Linked DNA regions of Homo sapiens: all the other regions are linked to region 2. Evidence: promoter capture Hi-C in 16 types of primary human blood cells and fetal thymus (Javierre and others, 2016). All regions are on one chromosome and are shown on one strand. The core of a region is centred on a gene start or on the middle of the fragment in contact, and the rest is flanking DNA. Distances in the headings are between cores, read along the strand shown. Region 1 overlaps SPTBN2 (spectrin beta, non-erythrocytic 2). Region 2 holds the start of PC (pyruvate carboxylase). Region 3 holds the start of ANKRD13D (ankyrin repeat domain 13D).

Region 1 (3,624 bases), core at 472-2,971, 270 kb before region 2:
GAACTCTCGGAATTTGTCTCGGAGCATCTGGTAGAGGAAGCAGATGGACAGACCATGCCGTGATGTTAGGGGATGTGGTCCCTGCCTGATGGAGCGAGTCCTCCACTCCAAACTCAGAACCCACCTCTCCCCGCTGCATGGGGGCCGGGACAGGTTTCTTCCCTGTGGTTAAGGAGTAGGTGCAGCTGCTTCCCACTGACCCTGTATTTGACAGACTCCCTCCACCCCCAGCAAAGGCGTTTCAAGGTGCTTGGGACCCTTAGGCTTCAGACAAGGATACCCTAACTATGGTCCATATTTCTGTACGACTGAGGGTCCAAGCCCCCAAACTGTCGGGGGGGTGGATCATACTCCGTTTTGTTGAATTCTGTTGAAAAGTGTGAGTGATAATTTCCTGTTTGCCCTTGTCTCAGCTCAGCTTCATGTCCCCTTTCTGTACAATTCTTCAAATTGTGTGTGTGTGTATGTATTTAGAGATGATAGGGTCTTGCTCTGGAGTGCACTAGCGCAATCACTGCAGTGTCGACCTCCCAGGCTCAAGAGATCCTCCCACCTCAGCCTCCTAAGTAGTTGGGCCTACAGGCATGCACGGCTGTGCCTGGCTAATAAAAAAAAATTTTTTTTGTAGAGATGGGGGGTCTCACTATGTTGCCCAGGCTGGTCTTGAACTCCTGGACTCAAGCAATCCTCCCATCTCAGCCTCCCAAGGTGCTAGGATTACAGGTGTGAGCCTATGCCCGGCCTCTTCAAATCATATACCTCAAAACCAGGAGGACAGTGCCTGCTCAGCCTGGTCTTGCCCCTTAGCCCCTCAGTGCTCTGCCTGGGACTAGGTCCTAGTCTCCCTGTGGGTCCTCCACTCTTCCCACGGTTGATCTGAGCTGGGTGCCCTCCCTACACTCACAGTCACATGCTCGTAGTCCTGGCCCAGCTCGTGGGAGGCCGCCACCACCTCGCGCTCCTGGATCCACTGTTCCAGGTCATCCAGCTCGCGGCGGAGCTGGCACAGCCGGAGGTGCTCCTGCAGGCGCTCCCGCCGCTCTCCAGCCAGCTCCTTCAGGCCGGCATACAGCTTGTCCACCTGGGCTTGGCGGATGGATATCCGAGTGCTGCAAGAAGAGTGAGGGAGGCACTGTGGGACTTAGGGGTGTAGCTCTGACCTCCGGTCTGTTCTGTGGAGCCCTGTCCCTCTGAGTCTCCCAACAGCTCGCCCACCCTGTGTTCCAGCTTTCTAGAAGGCTCCGTGCACACAGCACTGAAGGCTCCACATTCCCTGCACCTTCCTGTTCCTGCAGCCGGCTCCACCCCCAGGCTGGGCCGGGCTGCCGCTGCACCCACCTCTCTGGGTGCTCGTGGTCAATCATGTCCTGGCTGCTGGCCGCCAGCTGGTGGATGGTCTGCGCGTAGTCGGCCAGGGCTTGCTCCAGCACCTGGTGCTTCTTCACCTCTGCCTGGGCACTCAGCTCATCCTGGGGGAAGGGACAGTGGCATCCAGCATCAGGTCAGGGGAGGGCAGAACTGGTCACATACACTGGGCTCTGTCCTGGCCCTCACCTTGGCCTTCTCCTGGCCCATCATGTGTAATTCCTGCTCGCCCATCCAGGCCTCCGCCTCGGCGGCATCGCGGTAGAACTGCTGGGCTCGCAGGGCATCCTCCAGTCGCTTCCCTCGAAGTTCCAGCTCGTGGCCCAGGCGTTTCCACATTTCCTGCAGCTCAGCCAGCTCTGGACCTGCTGCTGCTGCACCTAGAGCACGCTGCCGCTCCCTCAGGTCCGCGATCCGGGGCTCATGGCCCTGAATCTCTTTCTGCAGGGTCTGCCCATGGCCACAGAAGAGAAAATGCTGAAAGTCCTGCCCCAGCCCCACGTGCTCCCGGAGACCACCCTTCACCCCTGTGCCTCTCTCCTTCCTGGGTCCTCTGCTCCCTCTCCTAGCCTGGGGGTGCGATGGTAACACCCGTCAGCCGCCCAGCCCCCACTATCTCCTACTGAGAGGACCCACCCTCCCAAGGTGAGGAAAGACAGCCACTGAAGTCCAGGGTTACACTCAGCATCGAGGGGGGCCTGGTCTTAAGAAAAAACACGTCCAAGTCTGGGCAGGCTCCTGGGAACTTCTCTTTTGCCTTCAGCCTCTGCCTCACCTGGTTTTTCTTCATGAGAAGCTGGACGCTGGGCAGGTCCTTGCCATGCTCCATGGAGCTGGCCATGGGCAGCCGCTCTGTCACCCACAACTGGAAGAGGAAGAGGGGGTCAGTGGAGGCCCAGAGGGCAAGGCAAGCAGCAGGGACTGATTAGTGGGAGTGGGGACACCTGGGGCTACCGCCCTGTGTGTGGGGAACAGTCATCTCTGGTTCTGGGAGGCATCTCCAAGTCTCCCTATAGGGGAGATGGTCAATGCCAAAGAGAAGAGGGAATAGAGCCCTGCTGGCATCTCCCTGGCATCCAGGAGGGAGGCTGGAGAACCACATGGCTGGGGGCAGCTTGCCGTCCTTGGCCCCAGTGACTCACAATCTCATCTTCCACATCGCGGTGGAACTGGTGCTGCTCGCGAGAAGCCTGCAGGCGCCGGCAGCGTTCCCGCATGGGCTGGCACAAGGCCCTGAACTTCTCCTCCACGGCCCTCGAGGTTCTCTCCACCTCCCCTGCACCCTGGTCCTCCTGGGCCAGTGCTTTGGCCTGGGCCTGGATTGCCTCCACCTCCTTCTCTCTCACAGCCATCTCCCATTCCAGCATCTGCAAACCGCCAGGAGGAAGGACATGTTAGCTCTGCATTTCCGCCTTCATGCCCAGCAGAGACACCAACCAGTCTCTATCCAGCCCACTGTGGCTGCTCATCACTGCAGCTCACCCAGGGAGAGCATCCCCTCATGGGCTGGATCAGTGGATCTCGAACTTTATATGCACAAGAATCCAAGGGCAGGGGTTGAAAAAATCCCTATTGGGTACTGTGCTCACTACATGGGTGATGGGTTCAATTACACCCCAAACTTCAGCATCACACAATATAACTTATAACAAACCTGCACCCACACCCGCGAATCTAAAAGATTGAAATTAAAAAATCCAGGGTAGTGTGATAACTGTGCCCATTATCAATTCATTGTCTCTCCATCCCCAATCCATCGTGGCCCTGCTTTGAGACACTGGAACTGGCCCCTGGAAACATTCCTCCTTTGCCAGCAGGCACAATCTAGGCCTTGTCAGCAGAGGGCGCTGGAGGGACACCACAATGCCTAGCAGATGTGGGGCATTCCACGGTTCCAAGGTGCTTTTCTTCCTCCTACAGCAAAACTGTCCACAGTGCGCAAGAGATCCGGTGGCTCTTACTCTCTGGCAAGTTTTGCTGCACTCTAGTGGCCACTTCCTGCTGGCCAGCCTTGGCTTGCTGGCTTCAGACATGCTCTGGCCTGTGATACCCCAGCAAATTTCCAGGCCATTCAGTGGGCCTCCGCCCTCTCCAAGGAGGTCTGAGACTCAGCCATCTTGCTCCTTCCTGGGGGACTCCTCAACCCCAGAGGTGTCAGCTGCTCCCTACACTTCCCATTCTGCATTCTTCAGAGCAGGGACCAGCAAGTCCAGCCCACTGCCTAGCCTTATAAAGTTTTTATTGGACCACAGCTGCACC
Region 2 (3,545 bases), core at 870-3,369:
TTCCTCTTCCAGTTCTAATTGCTTGAAACCTCTGTAACTGGCCAGGCATGATGGCTCATGCCTATAATCCCAGCACTTTGGGAGGTCGAGGTGGGCGGATCACCTGAGGTCAGGAGTTCAAGACCAGCCTGGCCAACATGGTGAAACCCCATCTCTACTAAAAATACAAAAAATAGCCAGGTGTGGTGGCATGCGCCTGTAATCCCAGCTACTCAGGATGCTGAGGCAGGAGAATCGCTTGAACTCGGGAGGCGGAGGTTGTGGTGAGCTGAGATCACACCGCTGCACTCCAGCCTGGGCGACAAGAGCGAAACTCCATCTCAAAAAACAAAAACAAAAAAACCTCTTTAACAAAACCTCTCCAGAATAAAACTTTCTAGCTGCTGAAATCCAATCACTGTTTCTCCACTGCAGCGGCATCAAAAAGAGGTCCACAACTCACCTCCTCCACGAAGCCTTCCCAAGCCCATCCCCTTCCAGGCCATTTCTCCTCTCTCTCGCTTTAGTGTGTGGTTTGCTGTGATTTACTGGCCTCTACTGAACTTCCTCTTCCATGTCCTCCTAGGGCCAATACCTCACCCACTAGGCTCTCTACAAACATCTGCAGCAGGCTGCCTTGCTGCTTAGGTTTTGTTTATTTTCTCTCTCCCCCAATGGGTTTGTCAGCAGTTGCAGGACAAGGATTGACCTCATCGCCCACGCTGTCTCTCGGCCCAGTGTAGGGATAGGAACACTGTAGGTGTGCAAAAGAATGTGATTAAGAGTTCAACAGTTAAGGAGAGCCTGCAGGCAGGAAGCTGTAGCTGCAAGTGAGAGAAATGCTGAGCACATCCACCCCCAGCACAAGTGTTTGCATCACATACAGGGAAAGGGTGCCTTGGGGGAGGCCAGCCAGGGCTGATGGTGGCAGTGGGTACGGGAGCAATAGGGAGGCAGATGGCAGGCACTCTGGAGGTTCTGGTTGTCATCAGCAAGTGTTGGTACTTCTCTGAGCCTGTTTTCTCAGCTGGAGAACGGGTAAGGAGCCCAGGCCTACCTCTTCTCACAAAATAAAGACACAATCTGATTTTTTAGAATTTCAGACGAGGCACGCCTGTAATCTCAGCACTTTGGGAAGCCAGGGCAGGCCGCTCGCTTGAGCGTAGGAGTTCGAGACCAGCCTGGGCAACATGACGGAACCTCGTCTCTACCAAAAAATACAAAAATTAGCTAGGCGTGGTGGCGCCCGCCTGTAGTCCCAGCACTGGGGGACTGTGGCAGGAGGGTCGCTTGAGCCCGGGAGGTCGAGACTGCAGTGAGCCGAGATCGCGCCACTGCACTCCAGCCTGGGTGGGTGACAGCAAGACCCTGTCTAAAAAAGAAAAGAAAACAAAAGAATCTCAAAGTTGCCAGGGACCTAGGGACTTGGCTTCCGACTCTGATGCGCTTTGTAAACTACTAAAAGCTGGAGAAATAAGGGGCTGAGCCCAGCCCCACCTCCTGAATGAGCGGCCTTGGGCGAATCACTGCGTCTGGGCGCCTGGAGCTTCCCCGTCTGAAACAAAGTAGAGGATCCTACGGGAGGCGGAGTGCGAGAGCAAGGAACAAGGAAAGCCCTCGCCTTACACGCCGCGGCTTCCTGCAGAGCTGAGCCACATCCAGTACGATGGGGACAACTTGGGCTCCCGATCCTGACAGACTTGGGTTCGAACCCTCAGGGACCTCGCGCGAGGCGCTTTAGTCAGTTTCTCCATCTGCAAAATGGGCCCGAGAGCAAGAATGAGGCAGCCCGCAGGCGGACGCTGCGGAGGGGCGCTCGGGGGCTGCAGCCGGGGGCGGGTCCGGGGGCGGGTCCAGCCGGCCGAGCCCCCGCGCGAGGGGGAGGGGCGCCGTCCGCTGCGTCGCGTCGCGCACCGCGCACAGCCCGTCGCTGTCTCCTCCAGCCGTCACTCGCGGAGCCCGCGCCGCCTTTGCGCGCGCGACCCTTACATAAGCGTCCCTCGCAGCGGTGCCGGCGCACGTCCACCCGCTCCGACCCGCCGCGGGAAGAGGACCGTGCGGAGCGCGGCGGACACTCACCTCCTCGCCGTCGCCAGTCCTCGCCGCCGCCTCTACCGCTGCTGCCTCCACTGACAGAGAACAGCTGCGGTCTCCGTGCAACCGAACTTGCTGCAGTCCCGGCCCCGCCTTACGGACTTCCTATTGGCCCAGACAGCCCAACCCCTCCCGTTATTGGGCAGTGTTCTCCGTCACTCCTCGCCCCTAGGCTCTGGACTCCTCCCTGTGCCCGCCTGTCCGTCACGTTTAAGCCTTGGCGCCCCACGTCAGCCCCGCCCCTCCCGTCCCCGGCGAGCGCCTGGATAAGTGGCGAGGCTGGGAGAGCCCGCCCCTGGCGCACCACCGCCTACTCCCTTGTCTCCGGAGCCTCACGTGGGCCGCCGGACCCTAGCCGACGCCCGCAATAGGCGGAAGTGGCCGGGCTGTGGCTCGCAGTTATTGGCTGTCGGCGGGGGTGGGGACGTTCGATTCATTCACCCGAGTAGCACGTGTCTCCCGAAGCTGCAAGCACAACAGTTCGCACTGGGGCTCAGGCATCCCGGCTAGACGCAGATACGCGCTGGCTAGCGGAGAAGAGGTCGCAGGAAAAGCTAACGTTAGCGAAGGGCAGGAGGAAGGAGAAGGCGCTTGTGCCACACGGGTTACATGACTATGTCCTTTAACAGCTGCGTAGATGATGATGGGGGTCTACAGTACGTCTGTGTGACCTTGGGCAAGCAACTTAACCTCTGAGTCTCGGTTTTGTCATCTGCAGAGCGAAGCTACTCAGGACCTAGGGGGTTTGGAAGCCTTGTTTGAGACACAAGACACTTGACAAGACCCAAGACACTTGTCAAAGAGGAAAGCTTTGACAAGTGGAACAAGTGACTGAGGCATAAGTCTCTGTCATCGAGGCTTATTAATCCAGTTTGAGGGCGTGCTCGGGAAAAACACGAACCACAGACACATCCGTGGTTGTTTTTCCGAAGAGGTTTTCGGGAGGTTTAGTATTTATGCATTTCCTTAAAGGGGGAATGAGGGGAAGGCATGTAGGAAGAAGGGCAAGTAGGCGATTAGGACAATAGTTACATTCCTATGGGACTTTAGCTAATGCCCGGTAAATCTACGTAAGATGAGATGAATGTCTGAAGAGAAAAAGAGAGTAAAGGAAGAGTCAGTTATGCAGATGTCTCTGAGTAGGTAGTTTTGACTTTGTTCTGCACCTGGGAAAATAAGCTTGTAATGACATTCTTATTGTGGAATTTTTAGGAGCTAGACTTAGATTGTAGACCTGAAGCTACAATTGACCTGTCCTTGTTTATGGGAGGCCAGCAAGAATTTACTTGTGAATGATCTGTGGGGGCAGCCCTTCCCAAATGCCTGAGGTTTTTACCTTTCCGTGTGGATATGGCTGATGCCTAATGCTAGTAACAGCTATTCTTTTGGAAGAGGGTGTTGCAGTGACTCAGCTTCAAGGCTTAATCTTCACTTTCGCATGAATTGGGGCGCTGGGGGGGGGTCCCGAGATT
Region 3 (4,016 bases), core at 158-2,657, 330 kb after region 2:
AACGGACAGTCTCTCTCCCAGGGATGTGGGGGTCAGGGAGAGAGAGGAGGCCGTGGAAGAGGGTTGAGAAGGCACTGTCATGGAATTAAGTGCCAGTGGGGAGCTGTGTTCAAGATGGCAGAAATCAGGAGAGGCTGGAACCAAGAAAGTCCTGTCGGGGTTGAGTTTGGAGAGGGCTCAGGGAAGGGACCGCCTCTGAGAAAAGGGGTGGCCAGGGAGGGCTGCAGTAGTGGTGAGCAGGTGAGCTCTGGGCATTCAGAAGCCTTCGGGCTGCTACCAACCCCAGGACCTCACAGATTGACACCATAGCGTGGGGTGGCAAAGTGACCCCAGATGGCACAGGCGCCATGTGACTACAGGGAGAAGGCAGGGTAAAAATGGCAATCAGGCCTTCCAGCCCAGAGTCTCAGAACTGAGGACGCCCTACAGCAGGAAGTGATGCTCAAGCTAGCTGGCCCTCCTCAATCATGTTCCACGTAGGGAAAGGGAGAATAGAGGGTCAGCCTTGGCCACCTAGCAAAACCAGGGCCCCAGACCCCAGGCTGGGCCTCCAGTAATCAAGGGCCGGAACTGAGCTGACGGAGGCCTGCACCCTAGTTCCGGTGTGGGTGGAGGGGCCGGCCCTGATTTCGAAACTCGCCTTCCTCTCCTGACGCTGGCAGCCAACCGCAGCCTCTGCAAAAGGGACTCGTGCGGCGGGCGAAGGCAGCCGTTCGCCGCGGGCGGTCCTCCGCCGGGACGGCTCTGCCGCTGCCTGGGCCTGCGCCCCTCTCTCCCCGAACTCCTATCCCTGACTTCAGGGCCCCGGGGGCCGCCTCCCCGCATCGCTGGGCCTGCAGACACCGGCCAGGTCCCAGGGGAAGGTGCTTCCCGCTCAGCCGGCAAGCACTTAGTGGCGTCTGCTCGTTGCTCGTCTCCAGGCCGGGTGAGGGGAGCCGGGGCGCCCCACTTCACCCGCACACCCCAGCAGAGTCGGTGACCGCGGGACCTGGGGTAGGAAGACCGGGGCGAGCAAGGGGATCCGCGGGGGAAACGCAGGCATCACGGCTGCAGCAGGACCGCGGCCCGCCGCGCACGCGCGTGCACTACCGAGGGGCCCAGTGCCCGCCCCCTCCGGCCCCGCCTTCCTCTTCCGGACCCGGCTCCGGGGGTCTGCGCAGGGCTCGGGGCGCCTCCTGCGGGCCGCGGGCGGAGCTGTAACCGGGCACCGCCCTCCAGGCCGCCCCAGCGGACCCGGGCCCGACCGAGGTCGGGGCGCAGACCCAAGGCCGGGCATCTCCTCGGGCGCTCGCGGTTGCTCTGCCGCGCGCTGGCCTGGCCGCGGTTGCCATGGTTGCGGGGGGACGGGGGCGCGCGCGAAGCCCCGCCCCGGCCCGGCGCAGCCCCGCCCGCTCCGCCGCCCGCCCCGCCCTCCCTGCCGCCCGCGCTGCCGCCGCCGCCGCCGCCGCCGCTACTGCTGCGGGGGCCGCGGGGGGCGCAGCTGGGGCGCGGCTCGGAGGGGAGGCTAGGGGGCCGTGCCAGGCCCGAAGCCGAGGCGGGGCCGGGATGCGGCGCTGAGGCCCAGCATGGCCGGCCCGGGCCCCACCTTCCCGCTGCACCGGCTCGTCTGGGCGAACCGGCATCGCGAACTGGAGGCCGCACTGCACAGCCACCAGGTGAGGCCCCGCTGGGGCACCCGGCCCTTCCCCCGGGTCCCCCACCCAAGGCTGTGGCCTCCGTCCTGGAGCCCCCCCCCCCCCCCCGCCCGCTCAGCTCCGCAGCCACATCCTGGGCCTTCCTCCCCTGCACGATCCCAAGCCCAGGTCACCGGCCCCTCGCGCCTGAGCCTCTGGCCTCCTCTCCCCTGCGCTGGGCCTTGCCCTGCTCGCCCGAACTCGCTTCCGCATCCTTGCTGACCCAAGCTGAGAACAAGAACTCTGGTCCTGGTCCCCAGGTTCCGCCAAACTCCTGACAACCTGCAGCTCTGCCTGACCAGGCCCCGCCGCCAGACCCCGGCTCTGCCCCTGCCTTCCCTCCTGCCCCCTCCTCTCCCCTGCCAGGACACGCAGGCCACCCTCTGCCATCTCCCTGGTCAGTCCGCCGTCCTTATTTCCCACAGCGATTCCCAACCCTGCTCGCCCTGGCAGCCTCCCTGCCTTGCCCTCTTCTCTCCTGCCCTTTGTGAGTGTCCCGTCTCCCCCAGCACGACATTGAACAGGAGGACCCCCGCGGGCGGACCCCACTGGAGCTGGCCGTGTCTCTGGGAAACCTGGAGTCTGTGAGAGTGCTCCTTCGACACAATGCCAACGTGGGCAAAGAGAACCGCCAGGGCTGGGCAGGTACTGCAGAGGACAAGGGGCTCCCCCTGAGGCTGGCAGGCGGGGGGCAGTGAGCAGCCAGGCCTGGGGTCATCTGGAGGGCTCCCCTCAGCAGCCTGGTGCCCGCAGTCCTGCAGGAGGCAGTCAGCACTGGAGACCCCGAGATGGTGCAGCTGGTGCTCCAGTATCGGGACTACCAGAGGGCCACGCAGAGGCTGGCGGGCATTCCGGAACTGCTCAACAAACTTCGCCAGGTACAGCAGGGCACAGTTATGGAGGTGGGGTACCATGGCAGGGCACCACCCTGGTTACTGTGCCAGGCCTGGCCTTGGAAAGGCACCCAGTTTGTGCAGTGTGCCTCCTGCCACCAGCAAGGAGGTCTGTCTATCTTGACCCCAGCCCAGGGTCACGTAGGAAAGAGAGACGGCCAGGCTCACGTGGGAGAGACTGGACCCTTTGGAAGAGAAGCCTTGCCAGCTTTGGGCCTCCTGAAGAATGCAGATTACCTGGAGCAGGGACTTCAGGTTGACTCGGTGGATTATGGCCTGAAACCCTGGAATACTTGCTACTACGCACCCTTCTGGAAGCACACGGAGGGGCCTGGCTGGCAGAGCATACTATCTCATACCCCCTACCCCAGGAGCAGGCTCGGAGGGAGCCACTGTGCCCCCTTTACAGAGTAGGACTCTGAGACCCAGTGGAAACAAAGGCTCCCCCAGGGCTCTGCACAGGCTCATGGCCAGGTTGAGGCTGGCCCTCCACCTCCAGGTGCTTACAGCCTCATTGTCTGAAGACCACTGTAGTGCCCCACTTGGCCCACCCTCTCCAGGGCAGAGTGGTTGGGCGTAGCTGAGCCATAGCAGTGCGTCAAGACTTGATGAAGGGCCAGGCGTTGTGGCTTACTCCTGTAATCCCAGCGCTTTCTGAGGCCAAAGTGGGCGGATCACTTGAGCCCAGGAGGTGGAGACCAGCCTGGGCAACATGGTGAAAGCCGTCTCTACAAAAAGTACAAAAATTAGCTGGGAGTGGTGGCACACACCTGTGGTCCCAGCTACTCGGGAGGCTGAGGTGGAAGAATCACCTGAGCCCAGGGAGGCAGAGGTTGCAGTGAGCCGAGATTGCACCACTACACTCCAGCCTGGGTGACAGAGCAAGTCTCAAAAAAAAAAAAAAAAAAAAAAAAGACCTGATGAAGGGCTGGGCTGGCTGTGGACAAGGGGCTCCCAGGCCTGCTGGAGCCAGCAGCAGGCAGGGCGCTGACAAGCAGCTCTGGTTTCTCTTAGGCCCCCGATTTCTACGTTGAGATGAAGTGGGAGTTCACCAGCTGGGGTGAGTGGGGACCTCTGGGCTCCCAGGGATTTGGGGTGGGGCCTTTGGAAAGACCCCCAGTGACCCCTGTGCACCCTGCAGTGCCCCTTGTGTCTAAGATGTGCCCAAGCGATGTGTACCGCGTGTGGAAGCGGGGTGAGAGCCTGCGAGTAGACACCAGTCTCCTGGGCTTCGAGCACATGACCTGGCAGCGGGGCCGGAGGAGCTTCATCTTCAAGGGCCAGGGTGAGCTCTGGACAAACTCATTGCAGCTCCTCGGCCCTTGGGTTTCCTGCGGCTTGGGAGGACGGTGCTGCCTTTTCTCTCCACTTTCCAGATGTGGAAGCTGAGGTTGGGGATGGAGGGGCATCCAGGGGCCAAGACTGACCCACTTGGCAGCAGGTGGCTGAG

What was found. Contacts are between HindIII fragments. The CHiCAGO score rates a contact against its expected background, and 5 or more counts as called.
Region 1: a fragment that was not itself captured here is called in contact with the fragment with the promoter of PC in region 2 in 1 of 17 cell types (endothelial precursors); the score reaches 6.0 in endothelial precursors.
Region 3: a contact is called between the fragment with the promoter of ANKRD13D here and the fragment with the promoter of PC in region 2, in 8 of 17 cell types (fetal thymus, erythroblasts, total B cells and 5 more). The highest score is 9.8, in fetal thymus.

What each region holds. Positions count from the first base shown.
Region 1 is chr11:66,691,632-66,695,255 of GRCh38, forward strand. SPTBN2 (spectrin beta, non-erythrocytic 2) reads right to left here. Exons shown (of 38, transcript NM_006946.4): 22 at 2,508-2,732; 23 at 2,141-2,230; 24 at 1,555-1,815; 25 at 1,339-1,469; 26 at 905-1,109; 27 at 1-27. Among named protein-coding and RNA genes, the nearest start is that of RBM4B, 16 kb to the left of the region's middle. RefSeq lists an enhancer at 3,186-3,624. The HindIII fragment of the contact is 9,386 bases long and covers 1-3,624 here.
Region 2 is chr11:66,956,264-66,959,808 of GRCh38, forward strand. It overlaps PC (pyruvate carboxylase), which reads right to left and starts at 2,120. Exons shown (of 23, transcript NM_001040716.2): 1 at 2,059-2,120. RefSeq lists enhancers at 535-914, 2,078-2,127 and silencers at 1,778-1,877, 2,198-2,557. The HindIII fragment of the contact is 4,821 bases long and covers 1-2,880 here.
Region 3 is chr11:67,287,896-67,291,911 of GRCh38, forward strand. ANKRD13D (ankyrin repeat domain 13D) reads left to right here and starts at 1,408. Exons shown (of 15, transcript NM_207354.3): 1 at 1,408-1,655; 2 at 2,183-2,318; 3 at 2,427-2,551; 4 at 3,581-3,626; 5 at 3,708-3,851. The coding sequence starts at 1,566. RefSeq lists enhancers at 314-523, 1,758-2,682, 2,683-3,605 and silencers at 744-813, 994-1,763. The HindIII fragment of the contact is 22,420 bases long and covers 1-4,016 here.